Linked DNA regions of Homo sapiens: region 1 is linked to region 2. The links are contacts of gene promoters, found by promoter capture Hi-C in blood cells and fetal thymus (Javierre and others, 2016). All regions are on one chromosome and are shown on one strand. Each heading gives the region's core, a stretch centred on a gene start or on the middle of the fragment in contact. The rest is flanking DNA. Distances are from core to core; before and after follow the strand shown. Region 1 overlaps LOC124902489 (a long non-coding RNA gene). Region 2 holds the start of PYROXD2 (pyridine nucleotide-disulphide oxidoreductase domain 2).

Region 1 (3,768 bases), core at 521-3,020, 140 kb before region 2:
TGAGCCACTATGCCTGACCCGGTCTTGTATTATCTTGCATTTTGGTTTGTTGATGTAGAGCTTTGTAAACATTTCAAAGACTCTTTGTTAGGAATTGGTTTTATCTACCAGCCAGAATGTATGATCATTCAAGACTGGGACTGACAGATTCCAAAGGTTAATTTTCATGTAACCAGCTCATCTTTAGCTTCCAGGAACCGCGAAGGGATAGACAAGAGCTGTCCTGGTGGGGAATTCCCTTGACCTGACTTGGAGGGGCAGAGAGGCAGGGGACCTGACACAGAGGTCAAGGGAGATCCCTGGATCAAGCAGGACCTAAGCCAAGACCAGAGCCAGAGAGCCAGGAGCGAGATGTAGAGCCATTGGCATCAAAGTGTTATCAAAGTCCAAGCAAGAAGTCAGGACTGAGGGTGGAAAGGAGAAGGACAAGCCCTGTCAGAAGCCAGGGCTCAGTCTGATGAACCTGTTCAGATGCCACCAGACAGAGCAGGAGGGCAGCAGAGCAACCCCCACTTCTAGTCCAGCGGCTCTTTGAGTGTGGTTCTGGATCAGCACCATCAGCATGGCCCAGGACTGTGTTTGAAACGCCAATTCTTAGGCCCCACTGCAGAGCCACTGAATCAGAAACCTGGTGGCGATGGGGCCCAGCATCTGTGTTCTAACACATCCTCCAGATAATTCTAATGCCTGCTATCATCTGAGAACCTCTTTTCTAGACCACACCTTTGGACAATGTTTGGTCTGACAGAGTCTGGAGCCCTGCAGGTGCAATTATCCTTGGAGTCCCAGACCTGTCTGGCAGGCAGGGGCCCTCTTGCATTCTGAGGAACCTCTTCCACAGATGTCAGGCTGAGTTTTGGGGAAGCACAGTTTTTGGGAAGCACGGCCTTCTACATCTCAGTTATTTCCAAATGGGTTCCAACCTCTTCATGTGGAGTGGGAGAGCCATGTTCTGCTTAGAGTTCTATAAGGACCTCCATTTCCCCAAGGAGCCCATCATTGTGGTGGTGGGAATTCCTCTTGTTGTCTTCAGGGGGCCCTACCTTTGCTGGGTCAGGAAGGGGAGGTCAGGCCAACATCTAGATTCTGACAGAATCTTCCTGCATGACGGGAATTTCAACATCTATTCAACAACACAAAAGTCAGTGCCACTGTGAACATCAGACTGAAGTCTGAGATCTTCCCGGAGACCAGCTGGCCAAAAGATGTCATTGATGCCTAGCTCTGGGCAGGCAGAAGAGACCCGGAGCCTGTTACAAACGCCTTCTCCTTCTTCTTGGAGTTGGTTCTGGCTTTCATAATTCACAGTGGATCCAGAGTTGCAGAGATAATTCTTAGTCTTGGGCCATTCTGGATATATCATTCTTCCTCATAGACCATTCTGGATACGTCTTTGTGGCCAAAAAAGAGTTAAATAGCTGCAAGGTTGTTGATTTGTTTACAAAAAAGAAGAAGAAGAAGAAGAAGAAGAAGAAGAAGAAGAAGAAGAAGAACAAGAAGAAGAAGAAGAAGAAGAAGAAGAAAGGAGAAGAAAAAGAGGAAGAGGAAGAAGAGGAAGAGGAGGAAAAGGAAGAAGAAGAAGAAGAAGAAGAAGAAGAAGAAGAAGAAGAAGAAGAAGAAGAAGAAGAAGAAGAAAACTGCTCAGAAAGGACAAGAAAAGCTTCATTTCCTAGCCATTAACTGAAAACCACCTTTCTTAGGACAGGTTGACCTCTAAAGTGTTGACTGATCCATCCAGAAAAAAATGTAGATAAATGATGTCTCTTTTTAGCATTTCATACCAATAAACAAGGTGGGAAAGAAGGAATTTCACCAAGATATCAGCAGAAACATAACTTTGGAGGAGAAATAATTTCCTCTTCATTACCAGTTAATGAAAACAAGCTTCTGCCCACCAGCACTCTGAATTGCTGTCACTGTGGTGAGGTGGTGTGACAGGAACTTGGGGTAACGCCTTAGGCCTCTGGCAAGGATTCTTACATCAGAGCTAATAGGTGAATGTGTCTCATTCAAGGTGGGTGCTGCTCTGTGCTAAGTCTTGGGCATGGAGCCATTGTATCTGTACAGAAAACACTTGACTAGGCACCATGGGGACACCAAGAGAGAAAGACCCGGATCCTGCCCTCGGTTTAAGTCATGGATTATGTTCATATCACTATATGAATTACATAAACCAGTGAAATCTATTTGTATAGATGAGATCATTCATTCGCTTATTCATTCAGCACATATTTATGGAGCACCCATGATTTATGTAGCCACTTTGGGGGTCCAGAAAAGTCAACATAACCCAAGTTTCCCAGGCTCCAGGACAGTGCTGGGGTCACACTAATGATAATGGCCATACTTTCTGGTTCTTCTCTCTACTATTCAGTGAGCGCTTCTAGCACCATGCCCCCCACCCACTGCTCCAGTCAAATTCTCACTCAGTTTGCATCTAGGAGTTTTCAAGCGTGGCCAGCATGTACTCATAAAGCAGGCTGTAAGCCACGGTTAGATTGCAGCATCTTCCATAATCTTCCCACCCAGCTTTGCACCCTCCCCTCCCCAACCCTTGATGTTCATTACCTAAGAAGCTTTGTAAAAAAACTTTTCAAGTATTTGTGGCTAGTGCCCACTGCAAAAATTGCTGCTGTCCACGCCAGGGGGTTAGCAGCTCCTAAAGCTGCCACCTCTCAAGGCACAGAACAGTGCTACCTTTCCTCTGTAATGAGGAAAATGCCTGACTCCACCCTGTTCTACAGTGTGCCATCTGTACTCTATTCTGTTCCATTGGCCTACAGTCTGTTTCTTCACCAGTATCACACCATGTTGGTTATTATAGTTCCATGTAAGTCTTACATCAGAATGTGTGAGTCCTCCAACTTGATTCTTTTTCAAAATTGCTTTGTTTATTCTAGCTCCTTTGCCTTTCCATATATATTTTATTTGTTTATTTATTTATTTTTAAGACAAAGTCTCACTCTGTCACCCAGGCTAGAGTGCAATGGTGCAACCTTGGCTCACTGCAACCTCTGCCTCCTGAGTTCAAGCAATTCTCCTGCCTCAGCCTCCCGAGTAGCTGGGGCAACAGGTGTGTGCCACCACACCCAAGTAGTTTTTGTATTTTTAGTAGAGATGGGGTTTTGCCATGTTGGCCAGGCTGGTCCTGAACTCTTGACCTGAAGTGTTCCGCTCACCTCAGCCTCCCAAAGTGCTGGGATTACAGGTGTGAGTCACCACACCCAGCCTCCATATACATTTTAGAATGTCTTTCCATATATATATTTCAGCCTGTCAATTTATTTAAAAAAAAAACCTGCTGGGATTTTCATTGGGATTACACTGAATTCATAGATGAGTTTGAGGAGAGATGACATTTTAAGAAAATTGGGTCTTCCAATTCGTAACCAAAGTTTAGTCTTTGATTTCTTTAATCAGTGATTTGTAGTTTTCAGCATAAAGATTCCACACAAAACATAATTTTTTTAGACTTATGCCTGAGTATTACATATTTTGGTAATATTGTAAATGGTGCTTAAAATTTTTAAAAATTTCTGATTGGTTATTGCTAGTACCTAAAAATACAATCGATTTCTTTTGTATTGACTGTATATTTTCTGTGAAATTGCTAAATTCATTTCTAGTAACTCGTATTTTCCTTGGACTTTTCTACATAGAAAAGCGTGTTATCTGTGACTAGAAACAGTTTTATTTCACTTTTCCCACTAATGTGCCTTTCATGTCTTTTCCTTGCCTGATTGCACTTTCCAGGCCCTCAAGTATAAA
Region 2 (3,423 bases), core at 816-3,315:
GGTGGACACACTATACAATGATGTGCTACTGGGTATCTCTCCTAAATCACATTGAGCAACCTCATCTTGGTAACAGAAAAGGCTATGGTGGGAGTATTTACACCACTGTCATCAGCAAATATTACACAGAAGGGCTGAATTTATTTTTTGTGGTCAGGCTTAAGAAAGTGATGGGAAAATGCTAATAATGCAGATTAAACCTAACAGTGTTAGCTGTTATAGCATGAATAAATAGCACAAAAATTGAAGGAAATATTCTAGTATTAGAACAATATTATCTTATTTGAGTAACATCATTCCTGTCATTTAAAGAAGGAGGCCGGGCGCAGTGGCTCACACCTGTAATCCCAGCCCTTTGGGAGGCTGAGGCAGGTGGATCACAAGGCCAGGAGTTTGAGATCAGCCTCGCCAACATGGTGAAACCCCGTCTCTACTAAAAATACAAAAATTAGCCGGGCGTGGTGGTGGGCGCCTGTAGTCCCAGCTACTCGGGAGGCTGAGGCAAGAGAATCGCTTGAACCCAGGAGGCGGAGGTTGCAGTGAGCCGAGATTGCGCCGCTGCACTCCAGCCTGGGCAACAGAGCAAGACTCCATCTCAATAAATGAATAAATAAATAAAATAAAAATAAATTTTAAAAAATAAAGGAGTAAGGTTGGGACATAAATCTTTGTTGTTTCATTTGTTTCACGATCATCCTACTCTTTACAGAAAATATGGAGCACCGTTCTCTTTGGAGCTACCCTCATTTGTCATTTGCAACTATAGGTTGGCTACTGAGTTTGGCAAAAATCAAAGAAAGCCTTTGGTAAGAATCACTCGGGTAGACTGCATTTAAATTGAGAGTATTGTATCTTTATTTGTAAAATTGTGTGCAGTGTATCTTTTATTTCAATATTTAAAATAAGCATGTGTATATGTGTATATATATGTACGTAACACATATACATATATATACACATATATGTGTGTATATATACATATATATACATGTACACACACACATACATCACACATTTTTCCCTGGAGAGGTGAGTGTTGAGTATCTACCAGCTCGCAACTGCTCTAGTACATATGAAAATGAAGGCATGCCCTCAAAGCTGCATGTTGAGTGCCGTCTGCTTTCGGTCCCGTCATTATCTCTGTATAGACCCAGTTGGCAATCATGCATTTGGGGCCCTCTGCAAGTGTGAAAGGAAGGCACTAAGGAAAGACCACCTGGTCCTGGGCCTGCCTCTTCCCCTAGCACCCAGTAGACTGTGATACTCTGAGCCCAGGGGTTGGCAAAGTGTGGCAGATCACTGCAGATCCCCAAATGTCCCAGAGCTGCAAGGCAATGGGGTCCATCTCCCTCTGCAGACACGCAGTAGGAACTCTGGGACTCAGTTCTGTTTTATCCTAACTGGCCTTTATGAAATGACTGCAGTTTCTTGTGACGAGGGGTGGCCTCAGTGGTAAGGTAGTGGTGACCAGAACTCAGGGCACTGAGGGGGCGGGGTGCTGGATTTCACTTGTCTGTTGGCCCAGGGCTCTTTCCAACCCTTACAAACCATAGGCTGAGAATGTGGTGGAAACTAGGTCACTTTGCAAGAGATATAGGGAAACCCCTGAGCTCACCTAGTCTTCCTGTCATTCTCCATGGGAAGATCCAAGCCCAGAGAAGGCAAGCATTTGCCCCAGGCCACACAGCAGAGCCAGCACCGGAATCCCAGGTGCCTGCCTGCCAGATGGAAGGGCTTTCCATTGCAGCCCCTGCTAGCGTATAAACTTCTGGCTGGGTTATGCCAGAGGAGAGAGCAGTGGGGCTTGGCTCCCCCTCCCCCTCCCCACCAAGCTCTGAGCAGGGCTGTCTTCCCGCCCCTCAGCTCTGGCCCGGCCTGCTTTACCACTTTACCTGCTCCTATCACCACCGCATCATACTCAGGCTTCAGACCTCCCCTGGCTTCCGTGTTATCTCGTCTCCACGCCGGGAAGGGAGAGGCGGCCACAGCCTTGCAGAGACCTCGGCCACTTGCAGCCATTTCTGCCCCAGGCTGGGCCTTGCTAGGCAGGGAGTTTGCTAGCGATTGGCTTTTGTGCTGCCCTAGGCACGGGGTGGAGCAGGGAGGAAGCAGGAAGAGGAGGAGCTGCAGTCCCCCTCCAGGCCCCCTCCACCATGCATTCTTGGCCACAGGCCAGCCTCCTGCTGCCCTGGGGCTGTGCTGGGCCGTCGGGAGTGTTGCCTATTAACCAGGCGGTGTCACCTCCAGGATGCAGGGGATAATGGCAAAACTGACAATCCACTGGGGTTCCTATGTCAGGCTGGCATTGTGCTGAACCCTGTAGGCAAAACTCCCCATTTTACAGATGAGGGCGCTGAGGCTGCGGGGTTAGGGAATGAGTGGTGGAGGCAGAGTGGAGCTCGAAAGGGCCCTCTCCTCCCCTGTGCATCTACCTTCTCAGTCAGAACTGAAACGCCTGGGATGGCAAGTGCTCGTGTCAGACTCTGCTCCAACTCCATGCTGAGTCTGCCAGTGCAGAGTGGTGATGCCTCTACGCCCACAGGAGGCGCCCAGGGCGGCCATCTAGCGTCACCACGACCAGGGCCTTCAGACACCGCAGAGGCAGCTGTGTCTGTCGCTGAGGAGCACTGGAGTCCTCTCCTAAATGCTCAAACACAAACCCACAACGAGGGCTTAGGGGCAAGTTCGCTGTCTGTAATTCTCTGGTGTTTTAGTTTTGAAGGCCTGGCCAGTTCTCCTCTTTTGGCACCTTGCCCATTTTCCAAGAATCCCCAAGGATTCGAGGTCACATCTGTAAATACCTCCAGCTAAAGTTCTTTCTGACCCTCCCTTAGGCCTGCCTTGAATTAGGAGCCCCTTTGTTCTCTGCCCATTACTTAGCAGAGTGTTCCCCTAGGAGGAAAAAACCCCTTGGAGCGGAGAGTTCCTGCACTGCTCTGATATCGCAGTGTGACGGAAACCTGCTATTGGTAACGAATCTCAGAACTGGGAGAGTATGTGGAGATGATCCTAAGAGGGGGTTCCGAGGACCCCTCCACACACCATGGACAGTTACCCCGCATGTGAGCATCTCTGCTAAGATCTGATTCAGGATGTTCACTCCTGTGTTATTTATTATATAGAAAGATCAAGGGGACTGGTTAAACTAGACATATCACATCCAGCCGCTGCTAAAAACTAAAGGGAAATAGTAGGTGACAAAAGCAGGGGTCCTGAACAGTGGTGGGCTCAGGGGATTGGAGTTTTTTCCTTTATGTTTTTCTGTATTTTCCACAATCCACGCTTTTCATTGCCATTCCATCAGATGATGTTAAGGAGGAACACAGATCCAGTCACCTGAGGGGATACTTCCTCACTGCCACCTTCTCAGGGTTTAGACCAACATGTGGGTTCTAGTTCCCCCAGCCCCAAAGCTGTTCCCTG

The links. Contacts are between HindIII fragments. The CHiCAGO score rates a contact against its expected background, and 5 or more counts as called.
Region 1: a contact is called between a fragment that was not itself captured here and the fragment with the promoter of PYROXD2 in region 2, in 1 of 17 cell types (naive B cells). The highest score is 5.4, in naive B cells.

The regions. Positions count from the first base shown.
Region 1 is chr10:98,274,541-98,278,308 of GRCh38, forward strand. LOC124902489 (a long non-coding RNA gene) reads left to right here. Exons shown (of 2, transcript XR_007062260.1): 2 at 1-3,768. Among named protein-coding and RNA genes, the nearest start is that of LOXL4, 8.2 kb to the left of the region's middle. The HindIII fragment of the contact is 224 bases long and covers 1,659-1,882 here.
Region 2 is chr10:98,413,117-98,416,539 of GRCh38, forward strand. PYROXD2 (pyridine nucleotide-disulphide oxidoreductase domain 2) reads right to left here and starts at 2,066. Exons shown (of 16, transcript NM_032709.3): 1 at 1,893-2,066. The coding sequence starts at 2,019. HPS1 (HPS1 biogenesis of lysosomal organelles complex 3 subunit 1) reads right to left here. Exons shown (of 20, transcript NM_000195.5): 20 at 3,082-3,423. The HindIII fragment of the contact is 3,850 bases long and covers 1-3,423 here.